Linked DNA regions of Homo sapiens: region 1 is linked to region 2. Evidence: promoter capture Hi-C in 16 types of primary human blood cells and fetal thymus (Javierre and others, 2016). All regions are on one chromosome and are shown on one strand. The core of a region is centred on a gene start or on the middle of the fragment in contact, and the rest is flanking DNA. Distances in the headings are between cores, read along the strand shown. Region 1 overlaps NHEJ1 (non-homologous end joining factor 1). Region 2 holds the start of CFAP65-AS1 (CFAP65 antisense RNA 1).

Evidence for each region. Contacts are between HindIII fragments. The CHiCAGO score rates a contact against its expected background, and 5 or more counts as called.
Region 1: a fragment that was not itself captured here is called in contact with the fragment with the promoter of CFAP65-AS1 in region 2 in 9 of 17 cell types (endothelial precursors, M1 macrophages, M2 macrophages and 6 more); the score reaches 9.6 in endothelial precursors.

The regions. Positions count from the first base shown.
Region 1 is chr2:219,121,715-219,127,644 of GRCh38, forward strand. The region is part of intron 5 of NHEJ1 (non-homologous end joining factor 1); the gene reads right to left. Among named protein-coding and RNA genes, the nearest start is that of NHEJ1, 36 kb to the right of the region's middle. The HindIII fragment of the contact is 1,259 bases long and covers 1,351-2,609 here.
Region 2 is chr2:218,998,699-219,004,672 of GRCh38, forward strand. CFAP65-AS1 (CFAP65 antisense RNA 1) reads left to right here and starts at 3,517. Exons shown (of 3, transcript NR_046086.1): 1 at 3,517-3,602. It overlaps CFAP65 (cilia and flagella associated protein 65), which reads right to left. Exons shown (of 35, transcript NM_194302.4): 33 at 5,254-5,757; 34 at 4,437-4,574; 35 at 4,148-4,323. The coding sequence ends at 4,239. It overlaps MIR375 (microRNA 375), which reads right to left and starts at 3,010; the gene lies at 2,947-3,010. RefSeq lists enhancers at 863-1,846, 3,289-3,583. The HindIII fragment of the contact is 13,795 bases long and covers 1-5,974 here.

The sequences.
Region 1 (5,930 bases), core at 730-3,229, 120 kb after region 2:
ACTTGAGAGGTTGAGGTGGAAGGATCAGTTGAGCCTGGGAGGTCGAGGCTGCAGTGAGCCCTGATTGCACCACCACACTCCAGCCTGGGCAATAGACCCTATCTTAAAAAAAAAAAAAATTAAATTAATGAAAATTGTTTAAAAACCTGAAGAGCTCAACTAATGCTAAATACAATAGTAGGGTGGCTTGGGGTTTTCATGCTATTCTTTTAATTATAGTCTGGAATTATATTCATCTTTTTAAATACCCAAAATATACCAAGAACTATATCGCAACTGGGAGCTCTTACTAGTTAAATCTTTCAAGAAAAAAGGTGGGGCAATATCTCCCACCTAAGGAGTAGAAGACCACTTTATAAGCAAGAAGTTCTATTCAACAAGAGACTAGACCACAGGGGAACCATCTGACAGCAGGAGCAGCAGCCACGGCTGGTAAGTAGGGAGCCCAGGAGGGTATTTACAGCCTTGTGGAGGGTTATTCAAGAAGTCACAAAAATTTTACTTTACTTTCCTTAGATCCACGCACCTTTCAAGAGCTCCCTGGGGATCTTTCACTAATTTCCCCACCAGGGAATGACTTCCTCATCTGTCCTCACTGAGCACTTCATGTTTGTCTTTATTACAGCACTCTTACTTTGGTAAGATAAGTGTGTGTACACCTATCTATCTCATTTTCTGAGCCATATGCTTCTTGGGGGCAGGAATCATGTTAGTTATCTCTGTACCCTTGGCACAGTAAGTACTTAAATATGTTAGTTTCCTATCCCCCATAGTACTGGTACAAGAACCTAAACCCAGTGGTATTCAATAAATGCTGGATAAGGATGATAACATTAATAACAGCCATTCAGCACAACTCCACTAAGTTGTCAGACCAGTTTAGGATATTGGCATGAAAAATGCTTTTTCTCCTGGCCCAGACATTTACTCTTAAGATTTGCCTCCTCCTCAATAGACTCCAGGAAATAGGGTTAGTTTTAAGTTCTAGAAACTCTAATCATTCCTGTTTTCTCCAAACTAAGGGCCTGAAGGAAGACTGCAGATACCTCATGAATATTGATGAGCCTCTGCGGTCACATGAATATTAACAACACCCTGTGGCTTTCGGGAACAGCAGCCCAGCTAGAAGGTCTAATATTAACCTTGGCTAGGCCCAAAAAGTAGAAAGCGCATATGCCCATACATCCCCATGGGGAGTAAAGAGTGGATAGCGGAGGCCAGTTTGGAGCTTGGCCCCTATGCAAACACTGGGCACACAGGCAGTTAAGAAAGAACTAAACATTGTGTCCTACGTCCCTGGCACTGGGGGGCTCTGTTAGTAGCTACCCAGGCAGGAATCCCCAATTCTCAAGCTTTGGAGAAGTTAGGATGTAGAGGCTAAATCATACTCAATTCAGAAAAACACTGGTAGGGATACACTGACCTAGTTCAATAGCTACAGTAGAGGGGTAGGAAAGGTTGACAGTCAGATCACATAGGACAAAAACCAGAATCAAATTACAAGGCTCAATTAGGCAACAAAGACATATTTTGTAGATCACACATTAACAGTAAGTAAAGTTCTATAGACTGGAGTTTCCAGCCCCATACCCTCCCATGAGACTAGTGGACACAGAAAACAATGACTGAGACTTAAGCGGAAAGCTATTCTACGACTGATGCAGTGAGAGACAGAAGGAGTCAGAATCTTTTTCCACCTACAGATCCTCAACCCAGGAAACATCAGAAAGAATGATGATCATTATTAAAAACAAACAAAAACAACAAAACAAAAAGTACTGTGAATCAAAGTTAACCAAAGAAACCCATGTACGCCTAGCCCTGGGTCTAAGTTCAAAATCTACTTCTATGTCACATGACAGAACTATTAAAAGGAAAGGCAGGTTAAGTAACCCCATGCAGTGGCTGGAATTAATGCTAATAAGATTCCTGCTGTACTCATCCACCAAGACAGACTACATTTAAAACTAGAAAAGTGCGTCTTTACTCCTCTAGCCTGATCCTACTCAAAGGCCTTCACCCCTTAGCTCTGCCTGAAAAGCTGATCCGACCCCCTTTACCCACACTCAAGAGGAACAGAGAGGCCTGTAGGCCTAGCCCAAGCTGAGGTGGTGAGAGGCCACACCTAGGAAGAGGGTGGGGGCTACTCTCAGGCGCTGTGTTCTGTCACACAATTACCATATTATGTAGCTCTAATAAAAAGAAATACTTGAAGTTTTATTAGTGCCATATAATAAAGTATTTATAGAATCCTGGCGGTGGGGGCAGAGGTAGAGAGAGGGAGAAGGAAATAGGAGGAATCGAAATTGTTAGCAATAACCCTAGCAATGGCAGCCCCCAGCATTCGCCACCCTGGGTAAACCTCAAAGACTTCAGCCTGGGACATCAGGCCAGCTGTCATCAACCTAGATCAGCATGGCTTACTGTTCACTCCCTCTACAACAGTCCGTCTCTGACTTCTTCCTGGTTAACAAAGAAAGAGGTGAGGAACTGGGAGGAGTAGGGAAGAGGAATAAAGAATTGATATCAGCAAAACTGTGGAGCCTAGGCCTGAAAAGGCTGGGAAGCAGAGGAAAGCGGGCATCAGTTGAAAGAATGAGTGGAATGTAAGCTTTAAAAGGTTCCATTCTGGAGCTAAATTTGAGTTCTCACCATCCAGCATATCTGACCGTTTTGAAATTTGCCCAAACAGGGTTTTCCATTACTGCACTGGCCCCTTCTGCACACCTCTCATACACCCACTCCAACCACACTCTCTACTCACCACCACCACCACGAGAGGAGTGCACCCCACACCTACTCCAACCACATGACACACACCCACACCTTCTCCCACACCGCCCCTCCTCACACATGGTCCTCACAGCCACAGTGCACACACATACAACACACTCACCACAGCACACTCCTTCTTAAGGCTACCAGCTGCCTGCATTTCCTGGGCATCTTCCCAACTTAAGACACATCCTAGATAAAAACATTTTCGGAGTCTACAACACTCTTTAACATTTTAAAATTTTCTATTACCCAGAAAATCTCCCCAAAGAGAGAGAGAAGTGAGGGCTGTGACATTATTACAGAGAAGACTATAAACAGAACAAATATAGTGCTGCTTTATTACAAGGCAGTGTGGGGTTGGTGGCTGGCTGATTACAGGGCCACTCCCCAGAGCTCTCTGCAGTCCCAGACCTCAATAAAGGCCAGACTTGAGCTGCCTTCAACTGAGGGGCCCCCTTCAGATTCCAGTCCAGGATGTGCTATCTGCCTTGGTTGAAGATAAGGAGGAAAGCAAACACAATCTAAGAACAACCATGCTTGGCAAAGAGCCACTTGACCATCTTCTCAAAGGCAAACACAATTAAGATGGTTTGGGTTTCTTGGAATCAATAGATTCCAAACTTTGGAAATTAAAAAAAAAAAAACCTAGAGAGATCAAGAACTGATAGACTTAAAAACCCATACACATCATAGATAGTGCAGAGTAAGGGGGAGGAATGGATTAGAGGACAGAAAGAGAAGCAACGCAGCTTGAGTGACTAAAGCAACCCATATTACGCATAAAATCATAGAAGGAAAGAGTGGGAAATCCACAAGTCCTCTCTTCTGGGCTCTGGGCACACAGCGTCCCTTCTTGGGTGACTCACACTGGGATCACCTTCACCCCTGCTTCATGTGGTAAGGGCCTCTTTATAAGGAGACACACCACGAGCCTTCTCCTCCTCCACCCCTGCGAGCCAGGGCAATTGCGTCACTGACCTCCACACACACTCACTCCCTCCTCTTTCCAGCCGGCCACCACACAAGGGATCTTGTCTTGTGGTCCCTGCGATCCTTTCATCTGGGCTCCAAACCCACTGTCACCTTGGCCCTGAATCACTCCCCAGGAGACACTGGGAAAACAGAGCTGGACAAAGAGTGTCTGGGTCCTGTATGGCTAGAATTTACTGATCCCTGCCGGTGAGAGAACCCAGGCTATGCTCTTCTCTGCCCAAAGGCAGGGCACAGGAGTAATTTTTAACTTGGCCTTGTGGCCAGCCCTGCCTACAGACTAGGTGTCCACTGATTTGGGTGATACCCAGCCCCCAACAGCTAAAGGATAAAAAGGGCTGAGAGGCAGTCCTAAAGGTTCTAGCTCCTCTGCCTTACTTGTTCCGTGGCTGAGGAATTGCTAGAGTTGGAAGAGTGCCAGCAAGTATCCCCCCAGTTCTGCTCTCATCCCACTTGGCTATTCTGTTCTGAGGGTAGCCCCAAGGAAAATATTTTGGCAGCTGAAAATGTCACTGTTTCTTAGATCCTTCTCCAAGATAGAGGATTCCCTCCAACTGTGTCTTAGCTCATTTCCATGTTTCATGGTCCTAACATTTTTCCTTGACCTTCTGTGTAATGATATTCCACTTTGGGACTTTGCCATTTTTCTGTAATTTCAGAACCTGTGGTTCAATGGGCAGATTTTAGGATGAGTTACAGGAACGCTATTTACTGAGTTTTCTCCCTTTTCAAATATATTTCATTACAACAAAGCCTCTAAGATAGCATGGGATAATGGGGAAAAGCTCTGCACTAGAAAGTCAAAGGACAAGGTTCTGTTTTCTACCTATTACTTGTGCAACTCGAGGCCGTTCAATTTCTCTGAGCCAACCCATCGTACCTCCTCATCCTTAAGTGGCCCTAGTGGGCTTTCAAAACAAACAAACAAATCCTCAAAATAATAATTATGTCAATTTGGTCTTCTTTTTATCTGAGTAGGTGATCAATATATTTGTGTTGAACTTTACCCAAGGAAGCCTGCTCATTTTACCAGGCAGTTATGCGAATCAAATGAAATCAAAAAGGCAAAAGTTCTCTGCAGAATTCATAGTAGTACAAACATTCACTGAGTGTTTACAATGGATCAGACAAGTTAAACAAGACATCATATCCCTGCCCTTGGGGAACTTACCACCTAGTAGGAGGAGCCAGAAAAACCAGTAATTATAGTACAGTGTTGATATGGCCTACGATAGAGCAAACAGAATAGCATATAAGAAGGGCAAGTAAACTGAACTCAGAGGGCCAGGGAGAATTCCCTAGAGGAAGTAACATATTCACTGAAATCCAAACAATGAACAGGAGTTACCCAAGTGAAAAGGTGGAAGGGGGTTTCCAGAGGGAACGGCATGTGCCAAGGACTAGAGGTAACAGAATGACGGGCTCTAGCAACTGATAGCAGTTCACTGTGGCAGAAGTGTAGATCTAAGAAGCAAGGTGGAGAGTATGGATGGGGTTGGGGAGGAGGGGGTTAGTGTGGCCTAGCAGAAGAGTAGCAGACGAAGCTGAAGATGTAAGTAGTGGCCAGATCATAAGGGCCTTAATAATCTTTTTAAGAAGTTTGGACTTTATCCTAAGGACAGCAGGAAGCCACTGAACAGTTTTAAGCAGGGACACATGACCAGATTTACGTTGATCAGCAGGTTCCATTTGGCTTCTTTTACTGATTGTAGATCCCTGGGGCTAGGGAGGTGTCAAAAAGAAAAGAACCAGAGGTTCAGACGTGGCCTACTTCTTTTCTTTCCATGGAACCCAGCAGGTTCCCACTCCCTTCCTCATGGGACTCTCCAGTCCTTTAAGTGCTTAGCTTACTTTCCAGTCTTCCCTCTCAGTCAGTCCCCTTACTCCTCCCTCTTTCTCTGGCAAAGAAAAACCTTTTATGATGTGGCAAGTCCTTTCCAATCAGCTGTCCTATTGACCTGGGATATTAGCCTCTTTTCTTGAATATTATCCCCTCACCAGCAACCTCCAAAGAGGGCTGTCAAGTAACCCTGCCAGTAATCCACATTTCTAATCCAAGGCCCATTTCTTATCTCTTACTTAAATTCCACCAACTCTGCCAATATTTACTTTTCTCCTCAATCCAAGATCTCTCAACCTCTAAAAACAATTTGGTGGCCTCC
Region 2 (5,974 bases), core at 2,267-4,766:
GAAGCCAGCCTAGTGCTCAGGACGGAGCGCCTTCCTGCCTCACCCTATTTGAATCACTCCTCAGTTCATGACCTCAGTTTGGGAAGGTTGGGAGGGTCAGAGAGGAGTGTGCCAATTTCCTTTGTTCTTGCTCAGGCCTCTGCTCTCTAGGAAAAAATGCTTGGGAACCGAGCCGAGGACCTGGCTTCTGGAGTTGGTGCTTGTCCTGGCGCCATTTGGGGATTTTGGTCAGTCAATCCCCTCTTAAGGCCTCTGTTTTTTACCTATAAACTAAGCTGGCTGTGGGTCCTGGAGGGGCCTCCCAGCCTTGACTCCTGTGATGCCTCTGGAAGGTTCCTTCCCCTCCCTATCCAGCGTATGCCTGCCCCACCCACCCACCCGTCTGGCCTAGCCAGAATGAGGGGGCGAGTTGCCATGGTCTCCATGGGGACTAATCTCCAAGAAGGTCAGTGAGGCTCTGGTACTGCCTTGGCCGGATGGGGATTAGCACCTGGGTGTGAGCCTCCCCCCTGCCAGCCAGTGCCTCCACTCCCAGGTCCCTCCACTGTCACACAGACCCTGGGCGGCCTCTAAGCCCAGAAATTCCAAGGCTAGGCCAGAATAATTGGGGTGGGTGGGGGCAGGGCAGCTGCCATAGCTGTTGGCTTGTCCATCTGTGGCCAAGAGGGAAACTCAGAGAGATGGAGTCAGATCTGTGCCCCTCACTGGCCCCTGGTGTCCAGCCACGGCCTGGGCCTTGCCCCTCCCTCACATTCTGTCCTTTAATGGGAGGAGATGGGCTTCCAAGATAAGGGTATCACCCTCCCCCCACCTCCAAACCTGTCTGCCACCTAGAAATCACCTCTTTATCCTTTGCTGGGGCTAATTCCCACCCTAGTTTGGGGTGGGATGGGGCTGTTTTGCAGCTTCCCCCTTTCTCCATACACACGATGCCTCCCGCCTCTGGTCCCCTGAGCCCTAGCCCCATGAATCCACATCCCCAATCTCTCTCAGCGTACATCTCTTGTTATCTTGAATTGTCTCCATGTGTCTCTCTCTGTTCCTCTTCCCTGGTTTCTCTCTGGTCATCTCTGCCTCTGGTCTCGCTCTCACAGTCTAGGGTCTGCAGCCTCTGCAGCCCCTGGGATCTCCCCTGTGTTCTCACACCCCTCTTTCCTTCAGCCTATGCTCTTGGTCTCTTTCTCATCCTTCTCCATTTCTCTTCTGCTGTTTCTCAGCTGCTGCACTCCAACCGCTCAATCCCTTTTCCACTTCCCCCACTACCTGGTCCCTCCCCCACCCAGGGTGCTGACAGGGACGACAGGAAGCAGGCTCCAGCTTTGAGCAGGAGGGGGAGGGGGCCTGCCTCGTACAGCAGCTGCTGAGTGCCCCCCTCCCCATGCAGCCCCGCACCTGCAGGCCTGCCCGGCACTGGGAGACCCCGCCCTGTGGCAGCGGAGCAGCGGAGGAGGGACCTGGATGAGAGGCCAGATCCCTGGTAATGGCCAGCAACTGCAGTCTTAGGATGGATAGTGGGTGGGGGACTGGGGAAATTAGGCCCTGGGGTGAAGGGGCAGTAATTCTCAGTCACCAGGAAAGATCCCCGCCCACTGGGTGGCTGCCTCCTTCTCACCACCCTCCCCTCAAGGCTGTGTGTGTGTGTGTGTGTGTGTGTGTGTGTGTGTTTGGGAGGGGGTCATTCCAAGCAGAGATCTCTTTGTTGTGCAAACCCAGGATGTGGAATCCTGGCCCCTGACATGGTTGGGGAGGGAAGGGGAAGCCCTCAAAGACACAGGGAAGGTGCACCAGGACCATGCCAGGCCCCTGACAGGCAAATCTTTCAGTGCCAGGCAGAGTAAAGGGCTGGCCCAGGACAGAGCCTGGTCAGGGGGGCCAGGAGAGGGCTGCACACACCCTAGCCCAGGACCCAAGGACCTTCCCCTGCCCCTGGGGCTGCTCCACGAAGAGCCCTGCTGTAGTCCACCCTCTCCCTAAACCTGCCTGGGATCTGTCCAACGCCATCTCGCCCCTCCCCCTTCTCTCTCTGTGCCACGGACTCGGGCTCAGCAGATCCTTTGGGGCCTCTGGGTAGTTGGGTGACATAGGGGCACTAGAGCGGGTGGTGGTGGAGGGGACAATCCAGCACCTCTAGGAACATGCAGTTTGGAGGGACTTCTGACCCTGGTTCCCATCTCCCGGGGCTGCCTCTGCCTGAGCTGAGGGCCACCTACCTACCCCACCCCAGCTGATGGAAGCGAGGATGTGGGATTCTGAGGTTTGAGGAAGGTGGTGAACCGCTGTGCCTGGGGGCTTGTCCTTTTCAGTCAGTCTGACTGTCTCAGACGTTTTTAGACTGAAAGAGGGACCAAGGGAGTGTCAGGGAGTGACATCTCAGGATGTCAGCAGCACCACAGAGATCCGAGGAGTGGATTTGAGGCTCCATGGTGGCCCTCAGCTTCCCCCGCCCAGATTTTCCACACCTCAGCCTTGGCTCCAACTCCGTGAGGGCCTGCATCTTCCCCAGCATGACCAGGAGCCCAGGAACCGGGACAGGAGGCTGGGGAGGGCCTAGCCCCTGCGGGAGGCCAGACCAACCGTTCACTGAGCAAATGGGAAAACCAAGAGGCCGGGAAATGACTTGCCCAAGGCCATAGAAGTCGCGGGGACAGAGGCGGACTAGAATCCGGGTTTCCACCTCCAGAAGGGTTTCTGTTCTGGGCCACGGCCCCCTTCGCCACCCGCTGGAGCCGGCTCAGCCCGTATTACGACGCAGAATGGAGCCTGGCAGCCCAGAAGCTGCGGGCAGGGCAAGGCAGGGCGGGTGGGGCCGGATGGGAGCCGGATCTCCCCTGGAGCGGCGCACAGCCTCTCCCACCCGTACGGTTGAGATGGCGGTGGCGGTGGCGGCGGCAGGTGCCTGCGTGGCGATCAGGCCGGCCCCCGGGCTGGTGCTGAGAGGCCGCCCCTGCCTCACGCGAGCCGAACGAACAAAACGCTCAGGTCCGGTTTGTGCGAGGGGCTCGTCGCGGGGCGGGAGCGGAGGGCCCGGGGCCTGGCGGTCGCCCTCGGTGATCTCCTGGTCCTGGTCTTCCGCGAGCTCAGTGCTGCACAGCGCCCCGCTAGCCTCCGCCCTCACCTGAACGCATCTGCGGCTGACACGTCGGCGGCCGCGGCGGCCACCGCAGGTGCGCACCTGGCCCGCCCCTCCTTTCCCAGCCACCCTCCGCCCGGCTTTCCTGGCCCCTCCGCCCGGCCCAGCCTAGCTTGGCTTCGTCCCCAGCCCACGCCTTGGAGCTTGTCCCGGAGCCCGGGCTCCGTGTGCTCTTATACTGCCTGTTCAGTCCCCGCCCCCAGACACACACACTCACACCTGTCCAGGCGCCCGTTTGCTCGGGGCAAATATTGACTCATGGAGGCGGAGCGCTCCCCCCTCCCCCGCCCGGGCTCTGAGACCGGAGCTTCTCCGAGGCCTTGGTGGCGGGGGCGGAGGGGAGGGTGCTGGGGACCCTGGGCGCCTCTGGAACAACACCAGATGTCACTTTTCCACCCACCTGCCTCTGGGAGGGAGGAGCCGAGAAGCAGAGGACAGAAGCTCCCGGGCGGGGGTTAGGAGGAACCGAGAGGTGGGTATCCATCCTCGTCTGAGGACTGATTCACAGTGGGAGTCGCTTAGCAGGGTCTGTGGCCCGAAATCCAGTGGTGACCTCGACCCGCCCCAGCCTAGTTCCTGGCCCTCCGCGGCGTGCCTCAGTTCTTCCTCCCCAGCCTCTTGGGCACTCGGAGCTCGGCAAATGCTAAGGGGCTGGCCCTGGGGGTGCTAAGCCTCCGAGCAGGCGCGGCGCGGAAAGGTGAGGGGTGGCCGCCCTGCCCAGTGGACACCTGCTTCGCTGGCCAGGCCTGGCACTCAGTTACTGTGCACCAAGGTGCGCTGGGGCAAAGGCCAGCCAGGCCCCGTCCGGAGCGCCCTCCACTGGCCAGACCCGGTCCAGCGGCCGGCAGCTAGCGGCCAGGTCTCAGTCCAGCTGCAGTGTGGGCGGAGAGGTGCATCCTCCCGGGCCCTAAGTTCCCGCCGCGCCTCTGCAGTCCGCCCGGGCTGCTCCCTGCCATCCTTCCCTCTCAGAGCTCGCGCGCGCGTTCCCCCTCGTCGGGGAAATAAAGTCAAGGTAGATACAGAAAAAAGACTAGATGCTTTTACTGGCGGTGGAGAGGGGGCCAGGCGTGACCCCTAGCGGCATGTCGGAGAGGCTGGGCGCGGGCATTTACGGAAGGTCGGTAGGAAGTGGCACCACCGGGTGGAGTACCTCTGCTTGCTGCGTCGGCAGCAGCGTGTCCGGGGTCAGACTCCTGGAAGACAAAAAGTCCCAGGTAGGCGTGGGGGCGAGGCTTCGGGCAGAGCCTGGCTGCCCCCGTGGCCCCTCTCGCGCGGTCTGCGCGGCCGCTGGTCCCGGCGCCCTTACCTGGGCACGCAGAACGGCGGCAGGGCGATGACGCGTGGCCGCGAGGTGAGTACCACCTCCCCGCGGCTCGCCTCCACCAGGATGTTCTGGATCATGTTCTCCAGCAGCGCCTCCTGCAGGTTGGCGAAGGCCGGGAGCCTGCGAGGGGGCGGGGGCTAGCATGAGGGCGGCCGCAGTGCCCGCGCGCCTCCTCGCTCGCCTGTCCGTGCGGTACATTGTGCCGCGAGCTCTACGGAGATTCCCATTCGACTCCCCTCATCCACTACACTATGGGGCATTCTTGTTTCAATGTTACGGACGTTCCAAGTGTGGCTAAAAGATTCCAAGTTGCCAAATATGCTGCTGGTTTAAGGGGTGGGATTCAAACCCAGGCGATGTAGTAGGCATCTCAGGGCCAAGTTTAGAGAAAGGTAGGGAAGTGATGAGAGGGCGCAGAAGGGACTGGGTGGGGCCTAGGGAATCCCTACAATGACATAAATCATCTGTAGGGCAGCCCCGGCGGGAAGTCCCACCTGCAAGACAGGTGGTCCTTTTCTGGCTCTAGAAGCCCATTTACAAGACTTTGCAGACTATAACAATTCTCCTGGTAAGTTGGTAAATGTCAACAACTAGTTCTTAGAGAAAAAAGAATAAAGTTCAGTGTTGGTGCCGGGCGGATACTCCCACAGAGGCCTTAAGCTACCAACATGACCTCACTAAGCACTGAATTAGGATGAGATGTGCATACAGGCAGCAGCCATCCTTGGCATCCCACTGCCTCCTAGGAACCTTCTGCACTTCGCCTCCCTCCCGTCCTCACTGGGGCCTGGCTGCTCACCTTCTGATGGCCTCCTTCTCGTCCTGTTCTTGCTCCTCCTTCACCATGACATTCAGCTGCTGTTGCCACTGCCATTGCATGGACTCCTGGGACTCAGGCTGTGGTGTGGGCCCGATGCCCGCCCAGCTCACTTTCTCTTCCTTCTCATCCCTCTCCTCCTCCTTCTCCTCTATCTCCTCCTTGCCCAACTCCTCCTCTTCTGTCTCCTCTTCTTCCTCCTCTTCCTCCTCCAACTCTTCTTCTTCCTCTTCACCCTTCTCCTCCTCCCCCTCTTCCTTCTTTCCCAACCCTGGATAGTGCTCTGGTCTGTCTTCCTTCGGCTGCTTGCCCTTCCCATCCTCCCAGCTGCTGGAGGGTACAGGCAGGATTGGCATTAAGTACAGGCTGTTTTTCTGGTCCATGAACTTAGTTGACTGCTCATTCCAGAATTGGCGGAAGTACGGCACCTGCTCCACCAGGCTTTGGTCCACAGCCTCATGGAAGTTCTTGTCTTCCAGCAGGCCCCTAGGTGGCAGGGAGAAGGAGAAGGCCCTTGCTGAGGGGCCCTGAAGCCCCTGGGGAGCCCTGGCTTCAGAGCTAGGTTCTAGGTGGGAAAGGGGCTGCTAGGTGGGGAGAGGGGAGCCCTTGGTCAGTTGTTCCTCCTGTCCCTTCTTTCAAGGAAGACATCTTTGAGCCTCATGGATTTTTAGAAGCGAACATGGTATGCTGGAGGCAGGGCAGG